7 separate regions of the Homo sapiens genome follow, and regions 1, 3, 4, 5, 6 and 7 are each linked to region 2. The links are contacts of gene promoters, found by promoter capture Hi-C in blood cells and fetal thymus (Javierre and others, 2016). All regions are on one chromosome and are shown on one strand. Each heading gives the region's core, a stretch centred on a gene start or on the middle of the fragment in contact. The rest is flanking DNA. Distances are from core to core; before and after follow the strand shown. Region 1 overlaps DTWD2 (DTW motif tRNA-uridine aminocarboxypropyltransferase 2). Region 2 holds the start of HSD17B4 (hydroxysteroid 17-beta dehydrogenase 4). Region 3 overlaps DTWD2 (DTW motif tRNA-uridine aminocarboxypropyltransferase 2). Region 4 overlaps DMXL1 (Dmx like 1). Region 5 overlaps DMXL1 (Dmx like 1). Region 6 overlaps DMXL1 (Dmx like 1). Region 7 overlaps DMXL1 (Dmx like 1).

The links. The method cuts DNA at HindIII sites, captures the fragments that hold promoters and counts their contacts. A CHiCAGO score of 5 or more calls a contact.
Region 1: a contact is called between a fragment that was not itself captured here and the fragment with the promoter of HSD17B4 in region 2, in 7 of 17 cell types (non-activated CD4 T cells, total CD8 T cells, naive CD8 T cells and 4 more). The highest score is 12.8, in non-activated CD4 T cells.
Region 3: a fragment that was not itself captured here is called in contact with the fragment with the promoter of HSD17B4 in region 2 in 1 of 17 cell types (activated CD4 T cells); the score reaches 5.6 in activated CD4 T cells.
Region 4: a fragment that was not itself captured here is called in contact with the fragment with the promoter of HSD17B4 in region 2 in 5 of 17 cell types (total B cells, activated CD4 T cells, non-activated CD4 T cells and 2 more); the score reaches 8.3 in total B cells.
Region 5: a fragment that was not itself captured here is called in contact with the fragment with the promoter of HSD17B4 in region 2 in 5 of 17 cell types (non-activated CD4 T cells, activated CD4 T cells, naive CD8 T cells and 2 more); the score reaches 7.3 in non-activated CD4 T cells.
Region 6: a fragment that was not itself captured here is called in contact with the fragment with the promoter of HSD17B4 in region 2 in 6 of 17 cell types (non-activated CD4 T cells, total CD8 T cells, activated CD4 T cells and 3 more); the score reaches 9.7 in non-activated CD4 T cells.
Region 7: a contact is called between a fragment that was not itself captured here and the fragment with the promoter of HSD17B4 in region 2, in 8 of 17 cell types (total B cells, activated CD4 T cells, total CD4 T cells and 5 more). The highest score is 9.0, in total B cells.

Annotation. Positions count from the first base shown.
Region 1 is chr5:118,968,701-118,972,251 of GRCh38, forward strand. All of the region lies in intron 1 of DTWD2 (DTW motif tRNA-uridine aminocarboxypropyltransferase 2), which reads right to left. Among named protein-coding and RNA genes, the nearest start is that of MIR1244-2, 4.1 kb to the right of the region's middle. The HindIII fragment of the contact is 1,010 bases long and covers 1,177-2,186 here.
Region 2 is chr5:119,450,557-119,454,184 of GRCh38, forward strand. HSD17B4 (hydroxysteroid 17-beta dehydrogenase 4) reads left to right here and starts at 1,941. Exons shown (of 24, transcript NM_000414.4): 1 at 1,941-2,077. The coding sequence starts at 2,020. RefSeq lists an enhancer at 2,042-2,091. The HindIII fragment of the contact is 7,394 bases long and covers 1-3,628 here.
Region 3 is chr5:118,951,540-118,955,417 of GRCh38, forward strand. All of the region lies in intron 1 of DTWD2 (DTW motif tRNA-uridine aminocarboxypropyltransferase 2), which reads right to left. Among named protein-coding and RNA genes, the nearest start is that of MIR1244-2, 21 kb to the right of the region's middle. RefSeq lists an enhancer at 1-56. The HindIII fragment of the contact is 1,017 bases long and covers 798-1,814 here.
Region 4 is chr5:119,106,299-119,109,964 of GRCh38, forward strand. The region is part of intron 4 of DMXL1 (Dmx like 1); the gene reads left to right. Among named protein-coding and RNA genes, the nearest start is that of DMXL1, 37 kb to the left of the region's middle. The HindIII fragment of the contact is 2,787 bases long and covers 694-3,480 here.
Region 5 is chr5:119,184,112-119,187,832 of GRCh38, forward strand. All of the region lies in intron 28 of DMXL1 (Dmx like 1), which reads left to right. Among named protein-coding and RNA genes, the nearest start is that of MIR5706, 31 kb to the left of the region's middle. The HindIII fragment of the contact is 709 bases long and covers 2,052-2,760 here.
Region 6 is chr5:119,090,299-119,094,173 of GRCh38, forward strand. The region is part of intron 1 of DMXL1 (Dmx like 1); the gene reads left to right. Among named protein-coding and RNA genes, the nearest start is that of DMXL1, 21 kb to the left of the region's middle. The HindIII fragment of the contact is 3,620 bases long and covers 138-3,757 here.
Region 7 is chr5:119,167,903-119,171,525 of GRCh38, forward strand. It overlaps DMXL1 (Dmx like 1), which reads left to right. Exons shown (of 44, transcript NM_001290321.3): 24 at 2,288-3,378. Among named protein-coding and RNA genes, the nearest start is that of MIR5706, 15 kb to the left of the region's middle. The HindIII fragment of the contact is 3,622 bases long and covers 465-3,623 here.

The DNA of each region.
Region 1 (3,551 bases), core at 432-2,931, 480 kb before region 2:
TGGCTCTGGTATGCACAGAGACCCAGGAATTTTGCATACTCTGGCCCTGGGAATTCCAGCAAGGCGGGAAATCCATCCATGCCTTCCCCTAGGAAGGGGGCTGAATCCAGGGGGCCAAGCAGCATCGTTCTGCAGGCCCCACTCCCATGGCACCTCACATGTTAACACCCACTGGCTTGGAATTCCAGCTGGCCAGTGGCAGGAAGCTGGAGACTGCCTGAAATGAACCAAGTTCCTGAGGGGCTTGGGAGTGGGGGCAGCTGCCATCTCTGTGGTTCCAGCCTGCCGGCTCCTCTGGGGAGTCCAGGAGGTCTGGAACGGGAAGAGTTTTCCACAACACAGCAGACTGTGGTCAGACTGCTCCTCTAAGTGGGACCCTGCTTCATCCCTCCTCACTAGGTGGGGCTTCCCTGCAGGAATTTCAGCTACACTAGCCTGAGTTATATGAACAGATCTCTGATCACTCCCTGGGACTGAGCCACCAAGAGGGGAGGGGCGGGGGGGAAGCGGTGACTGTATTTGCAGTTCAGCCAACTTAGCCTTTCCAGCCTGCTGGCTCTGGAGAGTCCAGGCAGTCTGTACAAGGAGGATTCCCCTCAGCTCAGCACACCCACTCAGCCAAAGGGCAGCCAGACTGCTTCTTTAAGCAGGTCCCTGATCCTGTTCCCCCTGACTGGGTGAGAACTCCCAGTAGGGGCTCCAGACACCTTCTACAGGAGCATTCAGGCCAACATCTGTTCAGTGTGCCCCTGGGACAAAGCTCCGAGAAGAAAGAGGAGGCTGTCACCTTTGCTGTTTTGCAGCCTTCACCGGTAATATCTCCAGGTGTGGGAGGACCAAGGAGATTAGGGTCTGGAGTGGAACCCCAACAACCACAGCAGCCCTATGGAAGAGTGACCTGTTAAAAGAAAAACAAACGAACGGAAAACAATAACAACAACAATAACATCAACAAAGAAGATCCCACAAAAACACCATTCAAAGGTCAGCAACCTCAAAGATAGAAGGTAGATAAGCCCACAAAGATGAGGAAGAATCAATGCAAAAACGCTGAAAACTCAAAAATCCAGAGTGACTCCAGATGACTGCAACACCTCTCCAGCATGGGTACAGAACTAGGCTGAAGCTGAGATGACTGAAATGACAGAAGGAGGCTTCAGAAAATGGGTAATAAAAAGCTTCACTGAGCTAAAGGAGCATGTTCTAACCCAATGCAAAGAAGCTAAGAATCATGATAAAACAATACAGGAGTTGATAATGAGAACAGCCAGTTTAGAGAGGAACATAAATGACCTGATGGAGCTGAAAAACACAATATAAGAAATTCACAATGCAATCACAAGTATCAACAGCAAAATAGACCAAGCAGAGGAAAGAATCTCAGAGCTGTAAGACTATCTTTCTAAAACAGGACAGAAAGACAAGAATAGAGAAAAAAGAATGAGACTGAGCACAGTGGCTCACGCCTGCAATCCCATCACTTTGGGAGGCCGAGGCAGGCAGATCACCTGAGGTCAGGAGTTCGAGACCAGCCTGGCCAACATGGCAAAACCCTGTCTCTACTAAAAACACAAAAATTAGCCAAGCATGGTGGTGTGCACCTATAATTCCAGCTACTCAGGAGGCTGAGGCACAAGAATCACTTGAACCCGGGAGGTGGAGATTGCAGTGAACCAAGATTGCACCACGGCACTCCAGCCTGCTAATAAAGCGAGACTCTGTCTCAGAAAAAGAAAAAAGGAAAAAAGAAAAGACGATGAACAAAAACTCTGAGAAATACAGTATTACGGAAAAGGACCGAACCTACAACTGACTGGGGTACCTGAAAGAGACAGGAAAATTGGAAACAAGTGGGAAAACATACTTCAGGATCTCATCCAGGAGAACTTCCCCAACCTAGCAAGACAAGCCAACATTCAAATTCAGGAAATTCAGGGAACCCCAGAAAGATACTCCACGAGAAGATCTACCCCAAGACACGTAATCAACAGATTCTCCAAGGTCAAAATGAAAGAAAAAATGTTAAGGGCAGCCAGAGAGAAACGCCAGGTAACCTACAAAGAGAAGTCCATCAGACTAAAAGCAAAACCCTCAGTGGAAACCCTATTAGCCAGCAGAGATTAGGGGCCAATATTCAACATTCTTAAAAGAATTTCCAGCCCAGAATTTCATATCTGGCCAAAATAAGCTTAATAAGCAAGGGAGAAATAAGATCCTTTTCAGACAAGCAAATGCTGAGGGACTTCGTCACCACCAGGCCTGCCTTTCAAGAGCTCCTGAAGGAAGCACTAAATATGGAAAGGAAAAATCATTACCAGTCACTACATAAATCCACTGAAGTACGCAAATCAGTGACACTACAAAGCAACCACATAAACAAGTCTGCAAAATAACCAGCTAGCTTCATGATGACAGGATCAAACTCACACATAACAATATTAACCTTAAGTGTAAATGGCCTAAATGCCCTAACTAAAAGACACAGAATGGCAAGCTGGATAGAGTCAAGATCCATCTGTATGCTATCTTCAAGAGACCCATCTCACATGCAAAGACACATATAACCTCAAAATAAAGGGATAAAGGAAAATTTACCAAGCAAATGGAAAACAGAAAAATGCAGGGGTCACAATTCTAGTTTCTGACAAAACAGACTTTAAACCAACAAAGATCAAAAAAGACAAAGAAGGGCGTTATATATGGTAAAGGGTTCAGTTCAACAAGGAGAGCTAACTATCCTAAATATATATGCACCCAATACAGTAGCACCCAGATTCATAAAGCAAGTTCTTAGAGATCTACAAAGAGACTGACTCCCACACAATAATAGTGAGAGACTTTAACACCCCACTGACAATATTAGACAGATGATCAAGACAGAAAATTAACAAAGATATTCAGGACCTGAACTTAGCTCTGGATCAAGCAGACCTGATAGAGATCTACAGAACTCTCCATCCAAAAATAACAGAATATATATTTTTCTCCTAGACACATGGCACTTACTCAAAAATTGATCACATAATTGGAAATCACTCCTCAGCAAATGCAAAAGAACTGAAATGATAACAAATAGTCTCTCAGACCACAGTGCAATCAAATTAGAACTGAAGGTTAAGAAACTCACTCAAAACTACACAACTACATGGAAATTGAACAACCTGAATGACTCCTTGATAAATTACGAAATTAAGGCAGACATCAAGAAGTTCTTTAAAACTAATGAGAACAAAGAGACACTGCACCAGAATCTCTGTAACACTGCAAAACAGTGTTTAGAGGAAAATACATAGCACTAAATGCCCACATCAAAAAGCTAGTAAGATCTCAAATCAACAACCGAACATCACAACTAAAAGAACTAGAGAAACAAGACCAAACAAACTCCAAAGCTAGCAGAATACAAGAAATAACCAAGATCAGAGCATAACTGAAGGAGACAGAGATATGACAACCCCTTCAAAAAATCAACAAATCCAGGAGCTGGGTTTTTGGAGAAAAAATAACAATAAATAGACTGCTAGGTAGACTAATAAAGAAGAAAAGGTGGA
Region 2 (3,628 bases), core at 691-3,190:
AAATAGAGAAAGAGTACAAAGGGAGGAATTTTACAGCTGGGCTGCCGGGGGTGACATCACATATCAGTAGGACCGTGATGCCCACCTGAGCCTCAAACCAGCAAGTTTTTTATTAAGGGTTGCAAAAGGGAAGGGGGTGTAAGAACAGAGAGTAGGTACAAACATCACATGCTTCAAAGGGCAAAAAGCAGAACAAAGATCATATGCTTCTGAGGGAACAGGACAAAGGGCAAAAGCAGAACTACTAATAAGGGTCCAACAAAGATCACAAGACAAAGGGCAAAAGCAGAGCTACTGATAAGGGTCTATGTTCAGCAGTGCATGTATTATCTTGATAAACATCTTAAACAACAGAAACAGGGTTCGAGAGCAGACAACTGGTCTGACCACAAATTTACCAGGGCCGGGTTTTTCCCCACCGTAGTAAGCCTGAGGGTACTGCAGGAGACCAGGGCATATCTCAGTCCTTATCTCAACCACATAAGACAGAGCAGCCGTTTATAGACCTCCCCCCAGGAATGCATTCCTTTACCAGGGTATTAATATTAATATTCCTTGCTAGGAAAAGAATTTAGTGATATCTTCCCTACTTGCACGTCCGTTTATAGGCTCTCTGCAAGAAGAAAAATATGGCTGTTTTTGCCCAACCCCGCAGGCAGTCAGCCCATATGGTTGACTTCCCTTGTTCCCTAAAAATTGCTGTTATTCTGTTCTTTTTCAAGGTGCACTGATTTCATATTGTTCAAACACACATGTTTTACAATCAATTTGTACAGTTAACACAATTATCACAGTGGTCCTGAGGTGACGTACACCTTCAGCTTACGAAGATAACAGGATTAAGAGATTAAAGTAAAGACAGGCATAAGAAATTATAAAAGTATTATTTGGGAACTGATAAATGTCCGTGAAATCTTCACAATTTATGTTCCTCTGCTGCGGCTCTAGCAGGTCCCTCTGTTTGGGGTCCATGACTTCCCGCAACATCCAATCAATCCTCCATAATGGGCAAAGTGATCTTTCCATAGTGTAAATGTGTTCCCACCACTCTCTGGAGTAATCCTACTTAAAACCGTTTTCAGCACAAAATTCAAACATCTAAACATGATCTTGCTGGCTTTGCTTTTGTGGCTTTACCCTCTTTCTCCCCAAACCTAGCTAGTGTTTGTGCTGCCTGTAATGCCCTTCTTTCTTTGCAGGGGTCGCCACTTTAGGTCCTGGTCCTCCTTCAGAAAGTTTTTCCTCTTTCTCCCCAGCGGGGATAGGGTCTGTTTATTTTGACACCATTAGCTCACTTACACACATTGGTCACAAGTCTAGGCTGCACCGTTATTGAAAGTTTACCATCTGACTCTGAGTAGCTTGAGGATCCTATCAAAACTCAGGAGATGCTCAGTAAATGTTGATTGAACTATGACTGTTCTCAACATACAAACGCAAGATCATTTAGGAACACTTGTCAAAATGTTTTTGCCCCTTGAGATTCTATTTTGGGAGGTAAGCAGTGGGGGTCCAGGACTCTGCATTTTGACAGTCCCCTGATGTTTGCATGTAGAAGTGCAGGGATTATTACACTGACAAATCTTTACCATCCCTAAGGGGGACTTTCCTTCCCAGGGGCTATCTCTGGAAGCCCCTCAAGGATAGGGGCCGCATGCTGTTTCTCTAGGTCAGCAACTAAACCCAGAAAACGTTTATTGAGTGAATGATGAAACGACAGGTGAATAGATGAACGCAAGGTGTCGAGTTAACTATTCTTCTACACAAGTCCTAGCAGCTCCCATTGCTTCCAGCCGCAGAAATGGCCCCTGGAAGGCAAGTCTTCCAGCGAGTGGAGTCACTCTTAACTACATTTCCCAGGATTCCAAGGGAGCCGCGCGCTCTGCGCTCATCTTCCTACCAGAAATCGGCAAGTCACTGACCCTCGTCCCGCCCCCGCCATTCCCCGCCTCCTCCTGTCCCGCAGTCGGCGTCCAGCGGCTCTGCTTGTTCGTGTGTGTGTCGTTGCAGGCCTTATTCATGGGCTCACCGCTGAGGTTCGACGGGCGGGTGGTACTGGTCACCGGCGCGGGGGCAGGTGAGCATGCGAAGGTTGGAGGCCGCGCCCCTTGCTGAGGCGCAGCTGGCTGCTCTTTTCGGGCCGGCATACGCGCGCAGCCGCAGCTGAGGTCACCCCGCTGAGGTGGTGGGGAGGGGAATGGTTATTCTTGAGGCACCGCATCTCTTGAGGAGGAAAGAGCCGGAAACACCTGGTCTCTCAAGCAGGTACAGCCCGCTTCTCCCCAGCACCCCGGTGTGGGCTTCCCAAGGTCCTGCCTGAGAGGAGAGGCCAGGCTGGGCTGCTGATTGCAAAACTGGGTGAAAGTTCTCCCTGACCCTTATCTGTGGGCATCGATTGTTACTCTTCCTGCAATTAACTCTCTTAGATCTTTGCCTAGTCTTTTAAAGGACTGAAAAGCCGCGAGGGGCGGGGGCTGGAATTCGCCCCCTGAAGCGCAGAGATGTCAGCTCCTGAAAAGTCATTCGGTCGTTCAGTGTTTGTTTCCCTCTGTCGTAAGATTTTAAGTTCGTGAGAGGACCTTCTTTAAAGAGGGCGTCTGATAAGAGCCCTTCCCCGTTGGAGTTTGTATGCTTAGCAAGTCACAATCTGTTCTCGAAATCCACTGGAGTCTTGGCAGAGGTTGTAAGCTCAAATGCGCACAGGGGTCAGGCGTATGATGGAGAAAGAAAATGGGAGTAGGATGGGCACATCTGAGGAACTGGAGAGCAGAGAATTCCGAAGTGGACCGGCCAGTGGGAAAGTTGCCTGTATTTCAGGAGCGGCAAAATGGAAAATTGTTATGTGAAATAGCCCCATTTTTTAAAGTACAAAAAATTAAAACAAACCATTCATACCAACATAGATGCTGTGCAGTGAGATTTTACATTAGTTTCTCACCAGTGGGTGACCTCTGTAACCTCCAAGTGCAGGGATCTTGACATTATGCACCTTTGATTCTCCACTGGTAGTACCTTATACCTGGAAAGGCCCTAATGCATGAATTATTTGAGTTATATATTAAACGTTACAAACTGGAATTCTGTCAATTAATTCCTATGTACTTTCATATCTGTATTGATAAAGTGGCTTCTTATGCTGCCTTTCAGAAAATGCTTTCAGTGTTGATGAATAGCCAAGTATTTTATACCCATAGCTGTCTGGTTATCTCTGCATGGGCATGTATTTGGGTGTAGTCATACCTTCTAAATGTTTTTAGGAAAACATTTTGTTTACACTTTGCTTTTATTGTAAATAATGTATTTTACAACGCTTGGTGTTTTAAATCTTTTTTGACAGCTCTTGGATAATTTTCATGCAGGAGGTCCAGGGATTACATTCTAAGACGTTTTTGCCATCGCTAAGGAGACTTTCCTTTTCAGGGGCTATATCTGAAAATCATTCAAGGATAGGGACTGCTTCTTTTGACACCATTAGCATACTTACACATGGTATGCAGTACATTTTACACCAGTACTCAGTACACTTACACAAGCACATACATCTGTATTTAAAACCAGTTCATGATATAGTGTGTAGTACAGGCAATGCATCCTGAAATTTATTTTCTATTCTGTTTTATTTATAAAT
Region 3 (3,878 bases), core at 56-2,555, 500 kb before region 2:
AATCAAAAGTGACATTTTCTGGCTATTTGGAAACACTGTCAAGTTTGTATTGGGGTCAAGCGGTGTTGCAGAAGAAAATAAGGCATTTAGGTTTTAGGTCAGGTGTGAGTTGAAGAGGTTTTAAGTTTTTGAGAACACAGGCTAAGGGAGAAGAAGGAGGAATGGAGGGTGGAAGGTTGCCCATAGTGAAGGAAGCAAGCCCAGAGAAAAGAGAGGGTAGAGACATGGAGAGAAGGGGTGGGAGGGTACTTGCCCCGCCTCGGGGAGGTAGTGCTTGCCACCAAGGTGAAGGATCAAGGCAGGCGTCCCCATGGTGATCAGACACCTCTGAAATGTGGCTGAATAATCAGGCAGGTGTCCCCGCGTGATTAAACACAAAGGAAAGACTGTCTTCCCAAGTCTGTGACTGGCACCGGAGTTTTAGGTTCACGGATAAAACGCGTCTCCTCTGTCTCTACCAGAAAAAGAAAGGAACTGAAATTAAGGGAAGGGAGAGATTGAAAGGTGGCGCAGAAATTGAAAGGAGAAAGGGGTTGAGGGATAGTGAGAGGACAGAGAAGACAGTAAAAAGACGCCGCTTACCCAATTTAAAATTGGTGAGATGTTCCTTGGGCTGGTTGGTCTGAGGACCAGAGGTCGTAGATGGATCTTTCTCACGGAGCAAAGAGCAGGAGGACAGGGGATTGATCTCCCAAGGGAGGTCCCCCAATCCGAGTCACGGCACCAAATGTTTCGACACCAAATGTCACGCGCGTCCGTGTGAAGAGACCACCAAAGAGGCTTTGTGTGAGCAATAAAGCTTTTTAATCACCTGGGTGCAGGCAGGCTGAGTCCAAAAAGAGTCAGCAAAGGGACATAGGGGTGGGGCCATTTTATAGGAGTTGGGTAGGTAGTGGAAAATTACAGTCAAAGGGGTTGTTCTCCGGCAAGCAGGGGCGGGGGTCATGAGGTGCTCAGTGGGGGAGCGTCTGAGCCGGGAGAAGGAATTTCACAAGGTAATGTCATCAGTTAGGGCAGGAATTGGCCATTTTCACTTCTTTTGTGATTCTTCACTTGCTTCATGCCATCTGGATGTAAACATGCAGGCTTGGGCTCAAAGGCCTGACAGGAACCTTTAAGAACATTTAGAAACTCTACTCCAAAAGTCTATTTAAAAGTTGGTTGTCTGGAAGTGGTTAGATTCTCAGCCCACAACAGCAGTCTTTAACCCATAAATCTGCAATATTTACAATATTATTTTAAGTACAGTATCCAACCAGGACCACATTGCTTATGCTCCAAGACAACGCCTCTCATCTTGTTTGCACGTCTCTGTTACTCCCAGGGCTGAATTCACTTTCTTTTATTTTAGTCGTATGTATTTCCTTTAGATTCCTATTAATACTTCCATTTAAACACTTGACCACATCATATGACAAAATTTTGTTTTCACATCTTCCTCTCACTTCTAGATGATGAACCCTCTAAGAGCAGAGTTTTCATTTAATTTTTGTATCCCCTAGTACAGTGATTCCCAAACTTTTGCTGTTATCAGAATCACCTAGAGGACTCATTAAACTAGACAGCTGAGCCCCAGCCCTCAGAGCTTCTGATTCAGTAAGCCTGAGAATGTGCATTTCTAACAAATTCCTAGGTGGTGATGATGCTGCTAGTGAGTAAGGAGTGAGGGGGTGAAGAATGTAAAGACCACAGTTTGATGTGCAAGGCTCTAGAGGTGTCCACACCAGTGGGTTTTATTTTTCAAGTGACTTGAATTCATTCGTATCTACATCCTGCCCACTTACCCATTCCTGTCTACATCTGAAGGTTGGCAAAGCTTGATGAACTTTTGTGAGAAGTAGTAATCAAAGAATAATAAACAACAAAGCTATGGACAAAATGGCTTACCCAAAACCCTTCCCCCTGCATGAAAATTTGACCTTCCCTTAACTAACGAGCTCTGTTACCCTGGCAACATGATAACTATATTGCTAAGCAACACTGTATGTGATTTAAATGACAACTGACTGGTAGATTGCATATGGACTAGAGACCTATAAAGACCCTATGGGGACACCATACTTTGGACTTCCCTAAATTGGAACCCTAGAAACTTGCTAGAGAGTTGTTACAAAAGATGTTGGCTCCTGAGAGCATAAAGTTATTAGGCTACCTTATCTGCCTAGTGTGGAACATATCACCTTCCACCTGAGCTGGACTGCTATGCCAGACTGCCACAAGGATGCCAGCAGAAAAGGGTCATCTAAGGTTGCTCTACAATGCCACAAATGCAAATTTGTGGCTCCTGGCCTATATCTTTCTGGTATTAGGTGTGGCCTAAAGTAGTCTTATGCACCTGAGTGTCTAGCAACTGGTGCTCTGCCTGGTATCTTATCCCAGATATCTGCAGAGCTTAAAGATTCACTTAGACCAGGTCTTTGCTCCAATGCCCCATTCTAAAATAATCCAAGGCAAGGCATGGTGGCTCATGCCTGTAATCTCAGAATTTTGGGAAGCTGAGGAGAAAGGATCACTTGAGCACAGGAATTCGAGATCAGCCTAGGAAACATAGCAAGACCTCATCTCTACTAAAAATTTAAAAATTAGCCAGACACGGTGGTGCACAGCTGTAGTCCCAGCTACTTGGGAGGCTGAAACAGGAAGACTGCTCATACCCAGGTGTTTGAGGATGCAGTGAGCTATGATCACACCACTGTACTCCAGCCTGGGCAACAGAGAGAGAAAAACCCTAGCAATGAATCAATCAATCAATCAAATCATCCACCTTTTCTCTCACTATCACTCTCTATCCCCTTATTCTGACTGATTTTTCTTCACAGCATTTTACTACTATTTGACATTATGTTAGCTGAATGTGGGTTTCCTTCTCTAAAATGTAAGCTACAGGGAGGCAAGGACTTAGCCTACCTTTTTCACTGCTATATCCCCAGCACCTGGCATAGTAGGTGCTCAATAGATATTGCTGAATACATAAAGGATTTTTTTCTTTTTTTGAGACAGGTGTCACTCTGTCACCCAGGCTGGAGTGCAGTGGCATGATCTCAGTTCACTGCAACCTCCGCCTCCCAATTCAAGCAATTCTCATGCCTCAGCCTCGTGAGTAGCTGAGGTTACAGGTGTGCACCACCACATCTGGCTAATTTTTGTATTTGAATAATTAATGTTATTTTTGGATTTTTTTTTGTAGAGGTGAAGTTTCTCAAATTCCTGGCCTCAAGTGATCCACCTGCTTCGGCCTCCCAAAGTGCTGAAGTTACAGGCGTGAGCCACCGTGCCCAGCCTGAAGGAATATCTTTACATTCCGTCTTCTCTAAACCTTTGAATGCTTTTCTCCTCCTATACAATTTTCTATCCCATTCGTTAATTTTTTTTTATATATCAAAGTTTAATTTCTCCTTTATGCCCTCTCTGGTACTTAAGTAATTCATTTGTATTACAAATGAAATTCAGAGTGTCAGGTCTTCCTTTATTATATTTTGTGATCATTTTGATAAGTGATCGCACATAAAAGACAAAAATATTTACTGAAGAAAACAGTTACTAAAAAAATAGCTAAACAATTTATGTGTAAACACTATAAGCGTGATTTAACCTAAAACTAATTGCTTTAACTCATGATTTTATATGCTCACAAAACATTTTCTATTTACTTTAAAGCATATTCTCTTTATTAACCTAATTTTACTTATAATTACTTCAAACTAATAAAACTGTAGCTCTTTAAAACATCTCAACTAGCTTTATATTTAGCAAGTTACTTTATAGGACGCATTTCTGCTTTATTACCTTACTATCAATCTTTCCTCCCCGACAATGCTCTGCATGCATGGTAATGGTGATTAGCTGACCAACTGTTAAACCATCTCTTCCTAAACTAG
Region 4 (3,666 bases), core at 837-3,336, 340 kb before region 2:
TGGTCACAGGTCCAGCTAATATTAAGGGTTGGGAGACATAGACTCCCCCTCTTGATGAAAGATATGGCAAAGTCATATTACATGGAGGCATCAACACAGAGAGACATAATTTATTGGGAGCCATTTTTACCATTCTACGAAAGTGAGGGAAGGCACAGAGAGAGAAAGCATAAGATACATTATAATAAGGATTAGTATTTCACTGGGCTGAGTCTCAGTGGTGGTAAGGAGATAAGACCTTACCATGTTATAGGAGACCTTTAAAGTCATGCTAAAAATTTGAATTTAATTCTTTATGGTTGTCTAAAAACTATAGGTTTTCAAAAGAGGCTAGTCATACAAGATTTATGGTTTTGCGAGATTTGTCTGCTAGCAGTGAGTTAGAAGGGTCAGTGGCAAATGGAACAGGAGAAGGAGTGACCTTTGGAGAGGTTGTATTCTCATTAGTCTGGATGAGAAATAAGAACTTATTTCAATGCCTTTTCCATAGTAGGTGTTCAATTAATATTAAATGAATTAATGAATAGTGAAAGGTATACATGGATATGAAATGTGTTTAGGCAGTAGAATTGACATTACTTAACAACTGGATTTGAAATTACTTTGAGAGTATCTATGACCACACAAAGAGTAATATGTAGGAGTTAGAGGTAGTGGAACATAAGGTATTAATTGGATATGTGGACCTTGAGAAGCTTGTATATCATAAAGCAATATATAGACATTTGAATCTAGAACATAAAAAGTTATCTTTGGGGCTGGGCACGGTGGTTCAAACCTGTAATATCAGCACTTTAGGAGGCTGAGTGGGGAGAATTGCTTGAGCCCAGGAGTTTGAGACCAGCCTGGGCAACATAGGGAGACTCCATCTCTACAAAAAAATTTTTGAAAAGTTAGTCAGGCTTGGTGGCTGGCACCTGAGGTCTCAGCTATTCAGGAGGCTGAGGTGGGAGGCTTGTTTGAGCCCAGGAGGTTGAGGCTGCAGTGAGCCATGATTGTGCTACTGCTTTCTAGCCTGGGTGACAGAGCAAGAACTTGTCTCAGAAAAAAAAAAAGAAAAGTTATCTTTGAGACATAGAAGTCATCAGAGAGAGATATAAAACTATTGGTAAACTGATTAATGCCTTTCTTTTGTGTCCAAATTTAATATTTTATGTTGCCTAATTCATAAGATTTTCTGTTTTAGACTTTTTATGCTTTTTTCCTGCTTTACTATCCATAATATCCTGCTTTAATATCTGTAATTTAATATCTGTAATATCTAATTCTTAGAGTTTGAAATCAGTATACCATATTATATCTTACCTACTTTTGTTCCATTCCATACCTGGGATTAAGTTTATATTCTGTATTAAATTCTTAATCTTTTATGGGATATCTTAATGTTATCTTCAGTTTATATTAAGCAAAAGAAAAGTTGTATCTGTTGGTAAGTTCAAAAGTGGAATAATCAACATATTTAAATGGAATGTTTCATTACTTCTTGTGCTTTTTTTTGGCCCCTGTCTATGAAACCTTCTGTCTAGTTGCTCTACTATTTATTGAGCTTCTGCTTAGTGCCTGGCCTGTGCTAGAGACTTTGTGCATATTATATAGCTAATCCTTACAACAACTGTATTTAAACCTCAAATTTTATAGATGAGAAAATTGAAGTTCAGAAATTACCCAACTAGATCAAATTCACATGGCTAATTAAGCATCTTACTTGGGATTTAGACACAGGGATTTCTGATCTAAAGTCTATGCCAGAGATCCACTTTCCTTTTGAAACAAGAAAACGAGGGCGAAGCATGCTGGCCCATACCTGTAATCCCAGCAGTTTGGGAGGCTGAGTTGGGAGGATCGCTTGAGCCCAGGAGTTTGAGACCAGCCTGGGCAACATAGCAAGACCCTGTCTCTTCAAAAAATTTAAAAAAGTGATTGTTCTAGAAATACACAAATCTATAGTCTTAAATTGCCAAGGTGAATGCCATCTTTATTGTCAGCTTTTTTGCCAAAATTGCTTGTCTTTTGTATGGATGATAGCACGGCCTTCTACTTAATTCCCAAGTCATAGAGTTGGAATCTGTCCTTTAACCCTCTTGTTTTTTCTCTGTATTTATTTGGTGTCAAATCTTGACAATTCTTTTTTTCATTTTTTCTTGAGACAGGGTCTTGCTCTGTTGCCCAGGCTAGACTGCAGTAGCACAATCATAGCTCACTGCAGCCTTGACTCCCCAGGCTTGAGTGATCCTTTCACCTCAGCCTCCCTAGTGTCTGGTACTACAAGTGCGTGTCTAACTAATTTTTGTAATTTTTTTCTGTAGAGGCAGGGTTTCACTATGTTGCCCAGACAGGTCTTGAACTCCTGGGCTCAAGCAGTCCTCCCACCTTGGCCTCCCAAAGTGGTGGGATTACAGGTGTGAGCCACTGCACCCAGCCTTGACAATACTTTTTGAAATGGCTTTCAAATGCTTGCTTTTTAAATATTTGGTTGAGATCCTCATTATTTACCATCTGAATTTTTTTTCCTTTTTTTTTGAGGTGGTGTTTCGCTCTTGTTGCTCAGGCTGGAGTGCAATGGTGTGATCTCAACTCACTGCAACCTCTGCCTCCCGGGTTCAAGTGATTCTCCTGCCTCAGCCTCCTGAGTAGCTGGGTTTACAGGCATGCTCCACCATGCCCGGCTAATTTTGTATTTTTAGTAGAGATGGGGTTTCTCCATGTTGGTCAGGTTAATCTTGGACTCCCGACCTCAGGTGATCCACCCGCCTTGGCCTCCCAAAGTGCTGGGATTGCAGGTGTGAGCCACCGTGCCTGGCCTACCATCTGAATTTCTATAGTTAATTAACCAGGTTTAATAGTTTAATAGTTGGTTAACCACACACTTATGGTTTCCCTGATGTTGTCTGTCTCTGGAGTTGTTTTCTAAAAAGTATTTTTAACCTTCTTTGTATACTAGAGTCTTTGAAATTTCGATGTAAGTTACATATTATCTTTCTGGAAAAATGCACATATTGTATGTGTGATTTTTGTATGTTATCTCAATAGAGGGAGACTCACAGGCCTCTCCATCTGTTGACTGCCCCTCTTCCAGTTAAGCCCTCTTGTTCTGAAATACAGATCCAATTTTGTAACAACTCCCCCACAATCCCCCACTGCCACTTGAAAATCTTTTACTCCCAACTACCTATAACAAAGTCCAAACGCTGTGAACTTGAAAAACTCTTCACAGTCTCACCTTGGCATTTTTTCCGTAGTAATTTTTTTTCTAGCCTATCTGTGTACGTTATTCGTTAACCTATACCAGATTAAGAGGCATTCTTGGGAAAATACATAAATTTATATGTCTTCATGCCTTTGTTCATGTTAGGTTTCCTTTCTGAAATGCCTGTCTCTTCTGCTTATTCATCCATTAAGGACCAGGTTTCATTTCCTCACTTTTCCTGGCACTTTTACTACAGGTACACATTAATGTCTCCTTCCTGTGGGCTTCCATAAAGCTTTGCATGCATTTCTATCATGTATGTAACACTTCCACATGGTATCATATTTCCATGTCTTTCTGCTGAAATATGAACTCATGAAAAACGACAATGTTTTGTTTGTCATTGTATTTCCAATGTCTAGCACAGTGCCCGGGACAAAGAAGATGCTCATTAAATACTTGTTAAGTGAGAGATTATA
Region 5 (3,721 bases), core at 1,156-3,655, 270 kb before region 2:
GGTGTGATCACAGCTCATTTTACAGCCTTGGCCTCTTGGGCTCAAGTGATCCTTCCACCTCAGTGCCCCAAGTAGCTGGGACTATAGGTGCAGGCCATCATTGATTAGCCTAGTTAATTTTTTAAGTTTTATTTTTATAGAGACAAGGTCTCACTATACCCAGGCTGGTCTTGGACTCCTGGACTCAAGTGATCTTCCCACCTCAGCCTCCCAAATTGCTGGGATTACAGGTGTGAGCCACCATGTCCTGCTTAATTCAGTATTTCTGTGTACCTTACTGAGACCAATCATGTGATCTCTCTCTTCAACCCAGTTTTCTAATATTTCTAAGTCCTAAGTCCTGCAGCAAAATGGCTTGAATATATTTTTTCCATTATAGTTTTTTTATTATGACTAAAAACACATGATATAAAATTTAGCAAGTGAACCATTTTTAAGTATATAGTTTAGTAGTAAGTCTATCATGTGGTGAAACAAATCTCTGTAACTTTTTCATCTTGCAAATCTGAAACTATACCCATTAAACAATTCCCCCACTTCATACAATCCCTGGTAATCACTATTCTACTCTGTTTCCAGGGATTTGATTACTTTATATACCTCATATAAGTGGAATTATATAGTGTTTTGTCTTTTTGTGACTGGCTTATTTCACCTAGTGTAATGTTCTTCCATGTTGTAGCTTGCGACAGAATTTCCTTCCTTTTTAATGCTGAATGTTCCGTTGTGTGTGTATACTCCATTCACATTTTCAATAAGTTTGTTGAGTTTGGGTTGAAATCTTATATACAGAACCGTGTTGTGGCATTCAGGGTGATTGAAAAGTAAGTACTACTCTAGGGCAGTGACTTCAGGCTTTTGAAGACATTACCTTATCCATAAAACATGCTTGACCAAATTCTCAATATATGTATATTGATGTCTACTACTATCGATCCAGATGTTAAACATTGACAAAATTTAGTTTCTTCTCCTTACTTTCCTTCTTCCCCTTCTTTCCTCTGCTTTCACCTCCACCTGCCCCCATCTCTCCTTTCTTCTTGTCCCTTCTCCTTTCCCTCTACTTCTTCCCCTGTCACTTTCTGCTCCTCTACCTCCTTCCCTTCTCCTTCTGCCCTTTCCCCCTATTTATCAAAAAATAAATCTAAGTAGAAGTTGTAGTATTTTCCTTCCATATTCTGGTGAATCATTTTGTACAACTACCGTGGAGACTCCCTTGCTCTGTGGTTTGGAGACAAATCACCACTTTCTATTAAGATATTTATTATTTCATTTTTATAGATATTTATGGAGCCATGTTCAAGATACGGTGTATGGTAATGATCCTAGGAAGACTTTGAGGGTCAGTCTTTCTAAAAGCTGGATAGTATCATCTTCCAGACTTTTTTTGTTTGTTTGTTTGTTTTTTTGAGACAGAGTCTCACTTTGTCACCCAGGCTGGAGTGCACTGGCATGATCCTGGCTCACTGCAACCTCTGCCTCCCAGGTTCAGGTGATTCTTGTACCTCAGCTTCCCAAGCAGCTGGGACTACAGGTGCACACCACGACACTTGGCTAATTTTTGTATTTTTAGTAGAGATGAGGTTTTGCCATTTTGGCCTGGCTGGTCTCAAACTCCTGGTCTCACGTGGTCTGCCTGTCTCAGCCTCCCAAAGTGCTGGGATTACAGGCATGATCCACTGTGCCTGGCCAGACTTTTTTTTTTTAATCACTAATCTTATTCTTTGATGATTAAGAAGTACCTTCAATTAATTGCTTCTTTAATCCTTTTATTTTTGGAATATTTGAAGTTTACTTGGAAAATCATGTTTTACATTTAATTTTGAGGATTTGTTTTATACTTAGTGTTCACGTACATTTGTAGTTCTCAAACTTTTTACCTGAAGATAAAGGTTAACATATACCTCTTAGGAGACTGAGGACTTAGACTGAATTGGCTTGCTGAAAGCAAGAAATAAATTTGAAATCTGTTTGTCTTAAACTTGCATGACTTTTATCTTTTCCATATTTGGGGGGCTCAGTTAGAAGGTCCAGACTAATGTGCCTCCTGAAGCTTCGTGTATACTCTGGCACACTCATGAATAGCTCTGTGGATATGGGTGCCTTAGATTGAGAAATAGAGAGTGAGACCTGCTGGTTACTTTAAGTTCAGTTATTTTGTTGTTTGTTTTGTTGTTGAGACAGGTTCTTGTTCTGTTGCCCAGGCTGGAGTGCAATGGTGTGATCTCAGCTCACTGCAACCTCCACCTCCTGGGCTCAAGTGATCCTCCCAAGTGGCTGGGACTACAGGCATGTGCCACCATGCCCAGCTAATTTTTCTATTTTTTTGTAGAGACTGGGTTTCACCATGTTGCCCAGGCTGGTCTTGAACTCTAAGTTCAGTTTTTAAAGAAATGACATTTAAATCTACATTCAGAATATTAATTTCATTGTGCTGATTTTAAATGATAAACTGAAAAGTAAATATTAACTTAATAACCTTCCCCTTATATTTTAGTTTTAATCACAGCAATATATGTGTGTGGTAACAAGTCTAGCAGTACAGAAGAATTTATAGGAAGGAATGTTGTCTTATTCCTCTGCTCCTCCCCTTCCCTATGTGTAGCCTGTTAGCCATTTCTCCATTTCTGTTTTGGGTTCTTTGGGGAGTTACTTTTATAATTCTTAGAAAACCACAGTGCAGATATTCTGAGGGTGAGGAAAGGATTGTTAAGGGAAGGAAGGTGTATTTGTCTGTACAGTCTACTATCTTGACATGGAAGCTTTGTTTTAAAAAGTACGGGAAGGGGAACATCACACACTGGGGCCTGTCGTGGGGTGGGGGGATGGGGGAGGGATAGCATTAGGAGATATATCTAATGTAAATGACGAGTTAATGGGTGCAGCACACCAACATGGCACATGTATACTTATGTAACAAACCTGCACGTTGTGCACATGTACGATAGAACTTAAAGTATAATTTAAAAAAAAAAAAGTGCTTCCTGGGAAAGCAACTGAAACTTATTTTTAAAATTTATGTCAGGACATTATTCTGTTTTTCCTGTGAATGCCTTAGTTTTTCTTCAGCCACTTTGTAGCCTCCCTATACCTCTTAAAATTCATAAATTCTATATTCAAGTTGCTCTTAATTTCTCCCTAATACTATTTTCTTTCTTCTGTTACTAATAAAGTAGCGGTTTTCCCATAATAGTAGAACCATAGGGTTAGTTTGCACCCAAGGAATGGCAAACGTTCTTGATATTTGATTATTAGCATTTTCAAAAACAACCAGTTGAACACCCAGCAGCTATAGTTTTTATCGGTGCCCCTAAGCTTCACGACCAATCTGACCCAGCAGGATTCAAGCATAAAATTGCCTTAAGTCTTCCTACAATTGGAGGACAAAGAAGAGGGAGTAACTACCCTATTGACAAGTCACAGGTCATTTCTTGTTTACTGGGTGGCATCGCTAAGGTCTTTTTAGTTAAAGCATCTAAAGTAATACACATTCATTACTGTGAAACTGCCGATTTTTTTTCCTTTGGTCCTGCTTCATTAAAAGTGTTGTTTTTGTTGTTGTTGTTTTTGAGATGAAGTCTTGCTCTGTTGCCCAGGCTGGAGTGCAGTGGTGCGATCTTGGCTCACTGCAACCTCCCCCTCCCAGGTTCAAGCAATTCTCCTGTCTCAGCCTCCCGAGTAGCTGGGATTACAGGCACGTGCCACCATGCCTGGCTAATTT
Region 6 (3,875 bases), core at 698-3,197, 360 kb before region 2:
GTGTGAGCCACTGTGCCCGGCCACTTGGGGTTAGTATTATTTGGGTCAAATCTGTTTGGGGTTTTTTGGCCTTTGTCTACCTGGATATTTATGTCTTTTCTGAAGTTTTAGAAAGTTTTCTGTTACTTCTTTGGATAAGCTTTCTACTTTCTCTTGTTCAAATCCCTCTTGAATGCCAATTCTTAGATTTCATTTTTGAGGTAATTTTTTGTATCTTGTAGGCAACTTCATTACTTTTCTTTTTTGTTTTTTTCTCCTCTGTTTTTTTTTTTTTTTTCTTTGAGACAGAGTTTCACTCTTTTTGCCCAGGCTGGGGTGCAATGGCGCGATCTCGGCTCACCGCAACCTCTGCCTCCCGTGTTCAAGCGATTCTCCTGCCTCAGCCTCCCAAGTAGCTGGGATTACCGGCGCCTGCTACCATGCCTGGCTAATTTTTTTTTGTATTTTTAGTAGAGACGGGGTTTCACCATGTTGGCCAGGGTGGTCTCGATCTCTCAACCTTGTGATCAGCCCGCCTTGGCCTCCCAAAGTGCTGGGATTACAGGCGTGAGCCACCGTGCCTGGCAGTCCTCTGTGTGTTTTTAAATAGCCTGTCTTTGAGCTCACTGATTCTTTCTTCTGCTTGATCCATTCTTCTATGGAGAGCCTCTAATGAATTTTTCAGTTCAGCAAATGTATTTCTCAGTTCCAAGATTTCTGTTTGATTTTTTAAAAATATTTCAATCTGTTTATTAACTTTTTCTGATAAATTTCTGAATTGCTTTTTGTCTTATCTTAGAGATGACTGAATAGTTGTTTCCTTAAAACTATTTTGAATTCTTGGTCAGAGAGCTCACATATCGCCTACTGGTTGGGGTCAGGTTCCTTGCTTTGTTTGGTGAGATCATGGTTCCCTGTTTGCTGCATTTATTTATTTATTTATTTATTTGACAGTGTCTTGCTCTGTTGCCCAGGCTGGAGTGCAGTGGTGAGATCACAGCTCACTGCAGCCTTAATTTACCAGCTCAAGTTGTCCTCCCATCTCAGCCTCCTTGGTAGCTGGGACTACAGGCACATGCCACCACACCCAGCTAATGTTTTTATTTTTGTTTTTTTGTAGAGGCAAGTCTTGCTGTGCTGCCCAGCCTGGTTTCAAACTCCTAGGCTCAAGGGATCCTCCTGTTTTGGCCTCCCAGTGTTGGGATTACAGGCGTGATCCACTGTGCTTGGCCTGCTGTTTCTTGTGGATGCACACCTATGTCTTTGCATTTATGGATTAGTTATTTATTCTAGTCTTTGGCTTGTTTTGGTTTATATTGGATATCTTTACTTGGAGATTCTTCACTGCTAAGCCACTGCCCCTTTTTAGGCTCCAGGTGTTGCCTTAAGTCCAGGTTCACCTTGGCTCTAGTAAACCATCAAAGGGCTGCCGTTCCTAAAGTGAGGAGATCCCACAGGAGGTATCTCAGCAGAGGGGGAATGCTGGCTAAGGGTTCATGTGCTGGAAACCTGTGGGACAAACCTCCTACAGGGTGGTGTTACTACTGAACAGCCTCTCTCATGTGGCATCTCCTTTGGCTGAGTTATGGAGCACTATTTTCAGGGATGCAGATAATAATACTGCCTGCCCTCTTTGTTTCTCCCTGTCCTCAGAGATATTTCTTTAGGCACTTGTGATGCTTCTTATGGGTTAGGGCTGGGACAGATATTCTGCTAGAGAACCCAATATGGTGGGGAAGCTGGCTGTTCACCATAATCTCCCTTTTTCCAGTGTAGAAACAATGTTTGGGGAAATTTTCTGTGCCCTAAGTGCTGGGCAGAATTGGGGGAGGGGTGTTGTGAATGTGGAAGTCTCTTTGTCTTTTTTCATTTCTGAAAATTGTCTTTTTTCATTCCTGTGGCCCCAGGAACTGTCTTGTCTTCATATGTGAGTTCTGGGTTATTTCTGGTGATACTTTCAGCACTGTATATTTGTTTTGGGTTTTCTTTTTCTTTTATTTAAGAAAAATTCTTTTTCTTTTTTTTTCACATAGGGTCTTGCTGTGTTGCCCAGGCTGATCTCAAACTCCTGGGCTCAAGCGATCTTTTCTCCTTAGCCTCCTGATTCGGTGGGATTACAGGTGCAATGTTGTATGAATCTGTTTTTCATTTTCTTTGGAGGCAAGTGAAACACCACCTTTTTGGAGCCACAGTTATTATTTTTTAAATAACAGCTTTATTGAAATATAATTTACATACCATAAAGTTCACCCTTTTAAAGTGTAAATTTTAGTGGTTTTAGTGTATTAACAATGTGTATTACCACAATCTGATTATAGAACATTTTCCTCACCCCCAAGAGAAATCCCGTGTCTATTACCAATCACTGTCTATTTGCCACTACCCCTAGCCACTGGCAGCTGCTATCTTACAGCCACTTACATTGCTTGTTTGCTTATTTGCACCAACTGCCTTACTGACTCTATGGATTTGTCTATTCTGGACATTTCATATAAGTGAAATAATAAAATATGTGGTCTTTTGTAAAGTTCATCCATGTTCTAGCATTTACTAGTACTTTTTATGGCTTAATAATATTCCATTGTATGGATATATACTATATTTTGTTTAGCCATTGACAGTTGATGGACATTTGAGTTGTTTCCCTTTGTGGCCATTATGAATAATGCTGGTATGAACATTGATGTACAGGTTTTTGTGTGGACATGTTTTCAGTTTTCTTGAATACAGGCATATCTTGTTTTCTTGCTCTTTCCCTTATTGCACTTCAAGTATTATGATTTTTACAAATTGAAGTTTTGTGGCAACCCTTTGTTGAGCAAATCTGTCAGCACTATTTTTCCAGTTGCATGCGCTCACTTTGTGTCTCTGTGTCGCATTTTGGTAATTCTCAAAATATTTCAAACTTTTTTTATTATTATTTTTGAACAGAGTCTTGCTCTGTCACCCAGGCTGGAGTGCAGCAACACGATCTTGGCTCAGTGCAACCTCTGCCTCCTGGGTTCAAATGAGCACGCCTGGCTAATTTTCATATTTTTAGTAGAGACTGGATTTCACCATGTTGGCCAGGCTGGTCTTGAACTCCTGACCTCAAGTGATCTGCCTGCCTTGGCCTCCCAAAGTGCTGGGATTACAGGTGTGAGCCACCATGCCTGGCCCCTTTTAAAATTATTATTATATCTGTTATGATGATCAGTGATCTTTGTTACTATTGTAATGGTTGTGGAATGCCAATGAACTGCGCTCAGACCTCCCTATTCACTGAGACACAATGATATAGAAATTATGAATAGTGACAACCCTACAGTGTCTTTTAAGTGTTCAGAAAGGAAGAGTTACACATCTCTTTCTTTAAATCAAAAGCTAGAAATGATTAAGTTTAGTGAGGAGGGTGTGTCAAGATGGGCCAAAACCTAGGCCTATTGTGCTAGTTAGCTGTTGTAAATGCAAAGGGAAAATTCCAAAGGAAACTATTAATTAAAGTTCTGCTCCATTGAACACATGAATGATAAGGAAGCAAAATAGCCTTATTGCTTATATGGAGAAGGTTTGAGTGGTCTGGCTAGAAGATCAGACCAGCCACAACATTCCTTTAAGCCAAAGCCTAATCCAGAGCAGGACCCTAACTCTTCTCAATTCCGTGAAGGCTGGGAGAGGTGAGGAAGCTGCAAAATTAAAGTTTGAAGCCAGCAGAGGTTGGTTCATGAGGTATAAGAAAAGAAGTCATCTTTATAACCTATAAGTGCAAGGTAAAGCAGCAAGCGCTGAGTGATGTAGAAGCTTCGGCATGTTATCCAGAAGATCTAGCTGAGATAATTGATGAAGGTGGCTATGTGAAAGAACAGATTTTAAAGCAGATGAAACAGCCTTCTGTTGGAAGAAGATGCCATCTAGGC
Region 7 (3,623 bases), core at 1,026-3,525, 280 kb before region 2:
TATTGGTAATTGCTACATGTGCAGATCACTCTATTAGGTGGTAAGGGTAATACAAACAAATTGAATTCATGGTCTTTATAACAGTTTTTGGTTGGTTGTTTGGTTTTTTTCTCCAGAAAGATAAATCCTTTGAAAACAAAGAACGTTGGATTTTCTGTTTTTACAAAATAGATTTACATAAATATTGAACATAAATATTGTCAACACTTGAATATAAACATTTTGAAGAAATACTGTTATAAAGCCAGTTTTTAAATCTTAGGTTGAATTTAGTGTGTTTGTCAATCAGTTTTAGAATTCTTACAGTGAAAAATGTGTTCAGTGTAAAAACAAGTTGACTTAAGTGATGTGATAAGAAAATCTTTAGCTAGATGAACTTTTGACTGTCTTGTTATGAACTGGTAGAGCTTATGTACTCTTTTGAGTCTGCTAGTACCTTTTCTTTTAGAAATCCTCTTTGCTAAAGCTTTCTTAGAGGCCAGTATAAAATGGAATTTTTTATATAGATGCATATAAAAATGAGATTTACTTTTCAGATATGTTTTCATAGATTGAATTGTGTTTGGTAGCTGATAAAATAGGTATTATATTATTTGGAATACTAATTGGAAAAGGGTCTAGTTCATAGATTTTTATGTGCTATCATTTAATCAGGAAGTGGCCTTCGCCTTACTTCCTAAACCTTTGAGAAAGCTGTGTGACTCATTTGTTTAAGTCTCCTAGCCATTTAAGCTAAAGATTTTCAAACTAGCCTCTATGTAATGAAGGGAAAATGTAAATGCCTTTTCCAGCCACTTTCTTTTTTTAGTGTTTTTATTTAAAAAAAAAAAAATTAGACACAGTATCTTGCTTTGTTGCCCTGGCTCATCTCAAACACCTGGCATCTAGCTGTCCTCCCACCTCAGCCTCCCAAAGTCTGGAATTACAGGCATGAGCTACTGTGCCTGGCCCCCTTTCCCTTTCCCTTCCTCTTTCCTTTTGTCTTGTCTTTTCTCTTTTCTTTCTTTTTCTTCTTTCTTGAGGTGGAGTCTCACTCTCACCCAGGCTGGAGTGCAGTGGGGCTATCTCAGCTCACTGCAGCTTCCACCTCCCAAGCTCAAGCAATCTTCCCACCCCAGCGTCCTGAGTAGCGGGGACCACAGGTGTGTGCCACCATGCCTAGCTAATTTTTTTGTATTTTTGCTGGAGATGGGGTTTCACCATGTTGCCCAGGGTGGTCTTGAACTCCTGAGCTCAAAGTGCTGGGATTACAGGCATGAGCCACCACACCTGGCCCTGGCCCACTTTCTTATACTTAACACATATTCATGTAAAAATTGTATTTTGATTTGGGACTAGTACATTTTTACATACTTTTATTATGAATTAAACTTGTATTCTTCTAGAAGAAAATTGCAAAAAATAATAGCGGCTTGGACCAGAATGATTGGAATGGAGGCAGAGAGATGTGGTTGGATTTGGGATATGATTTTAAGATTGATTACATAGGACTGGATTTGATAAGGAGTGTAAAGGAATTAGGAGTCAAAGGTAACTCCTGGCTTTTTAGATTGAACAATAGGTAGATGATATGGGGAAGAATTGTTTTAGATCATGGAGCTTTCTCTGATAAGGTGAACTTTGATCAGAGAACTGGTTGAAATGAGTGAGTTAATCAGTATAGATATAGGTAAAGAGTGGTTTGGGTCAAGGGCACACTAAATAAAAAGGCCCCAAAGCAAGAGTTTATACACATAAGTAAAAATGAAATGTAGGCCTTTGGATATAGGAGTTTAGGTTTTCAGTGTGAAGTTGGGACTGGAGATAGAGATGATGTCCAAGTTATCAGTGTGTAGATGTTATTGAAAGTCATGGGGACTATATGAATTCAACTCAGGGAATATAGATAGAAAATAAGTCAGCAGTTGAACCCTAGGAGACTCTCAGTGTTCAAAGGTAGAGAAGATGAGGAGGACTAGCAAAGCAGACTGAGGAGAAGTGTTCAGGGAAGTAGGAGAAAAAGAACTAAGAGTCTATAACTGGACGTTTTAAATTATCCTAGAATATTACCTGAAGAGACTTGTTTCAATGGGAAAGCATCATAATCTTTGTTTTCCTACTTTGTTAGAACATGTTCATTATAAATGTGTTGTTGTCTCTTCAGTGCCATGGATCATTGTGGCCTATTAGTAAAATTTTGTCAAAAGACTCTTTAGATAAAGGTGTCATAGTAGATAGAGAAAAGACACTACAATAGAAACACACAGTTCATAACTTTTCTTGGCTCATAAAATGAATTTACTTTCAGATCAAGTTTTATCAGCCAGTAATCCTACAGTTTTTAATTTCTACAATTATCTAAGAACACATCCTCTTTTGCTGAGACGTCATTTTGGATCATCTGATACATTTTCCACACATATGAGCCTAACAGGAAAAAGTGGACTGGCAGGAACAATTAATTTAAGTGAAAGACGTTTATTTTTTACCACTGCCAGTGCTCATTTAAAAGCTGGCTGCCCAATGTTGGCTTTGGAAGTATTATCAAAGATGCCTAAAGTCATCAAGAAAACAAGACCTTTTTATAGGGCTTCTAGTTTTCTGGATACTAGTAAAGACTGTTCTCCTTCTTCTCCATTAAAGTTGGATGCAAGGGAAGATAAGTCTTCTGCTGTTGATTGGTCACAGTCACTGATAAATGGTTTTGGATCTTCTTCAGAGGGTTCCTCAGAGAAGCAATCAAACTCCACTCTTTCTTTTGACTGGAGCCAACCAAGTGTTGTGTTTCAGGATGACTCTTTAGAGTTAAAATGGGACAGTGATAATGATGAAGAAAATGAGGATGTCCCTATTTCAATGAAAGAACTAAAACCTTTACAGAGAAAAACAGATAAAAAGTTGGATGACATAAGTTCTAACTACACAGAATCTTTCAGCACACTAGATGAAAATGACCTTTTAAATCCATCAGAAGATATAATTGCAGTTCAGTTAAAATTTAGAGCATGTTTAAAGATTCTCACAGTAGAACTTCGTACTTTATCTACTGGCTATGAAATAGATGGTGGAAAATTGCGTTACCAACTATACCACTGGCTTGAAAAAGAGGTGATAGCTCTTCAGAGGACTTGTGACTTTTGCTCAGATGCTGAAGAACTACAGTCTGCATTTGGCAGAAATGAAGATGAATTTGGATTAAATGAGGATGCTGAAGATTTGCCTCACCAAACAAAAGTGAAACAACTGAGAGAAAATTTTCAGGAAAAAAGACAGTGGCTCTTGAAGTATCAGTCACTTTTGAGAATGTTTCTTAGTTACTGCATACTTCATGGATCCCATGGTGGGGGTCTTGCATCTGTAAGAATGGAATTGATTTTGCTTTTGCAAGAATCTCAGCAGGTATGTAATTTACTTGATAGTCAAAAATGGTACATGTCTAAAACTGTTTTTGGTGTTTCTTTTTTGGTTTTGAATACTAAGACTTGATTTTCTTTATTACGGTTGCTTTAGGGAAAGCTCCCTTTTGTGTGGTCCTTCATATTATGAATTATAGAGTTGTGTATTTATAGTAGTTACAGACGATTCAGTATCAGGCCTTATGACCTGCTTAATTCACACTCCAAAGTGTTGTCTGAATGCCTTTG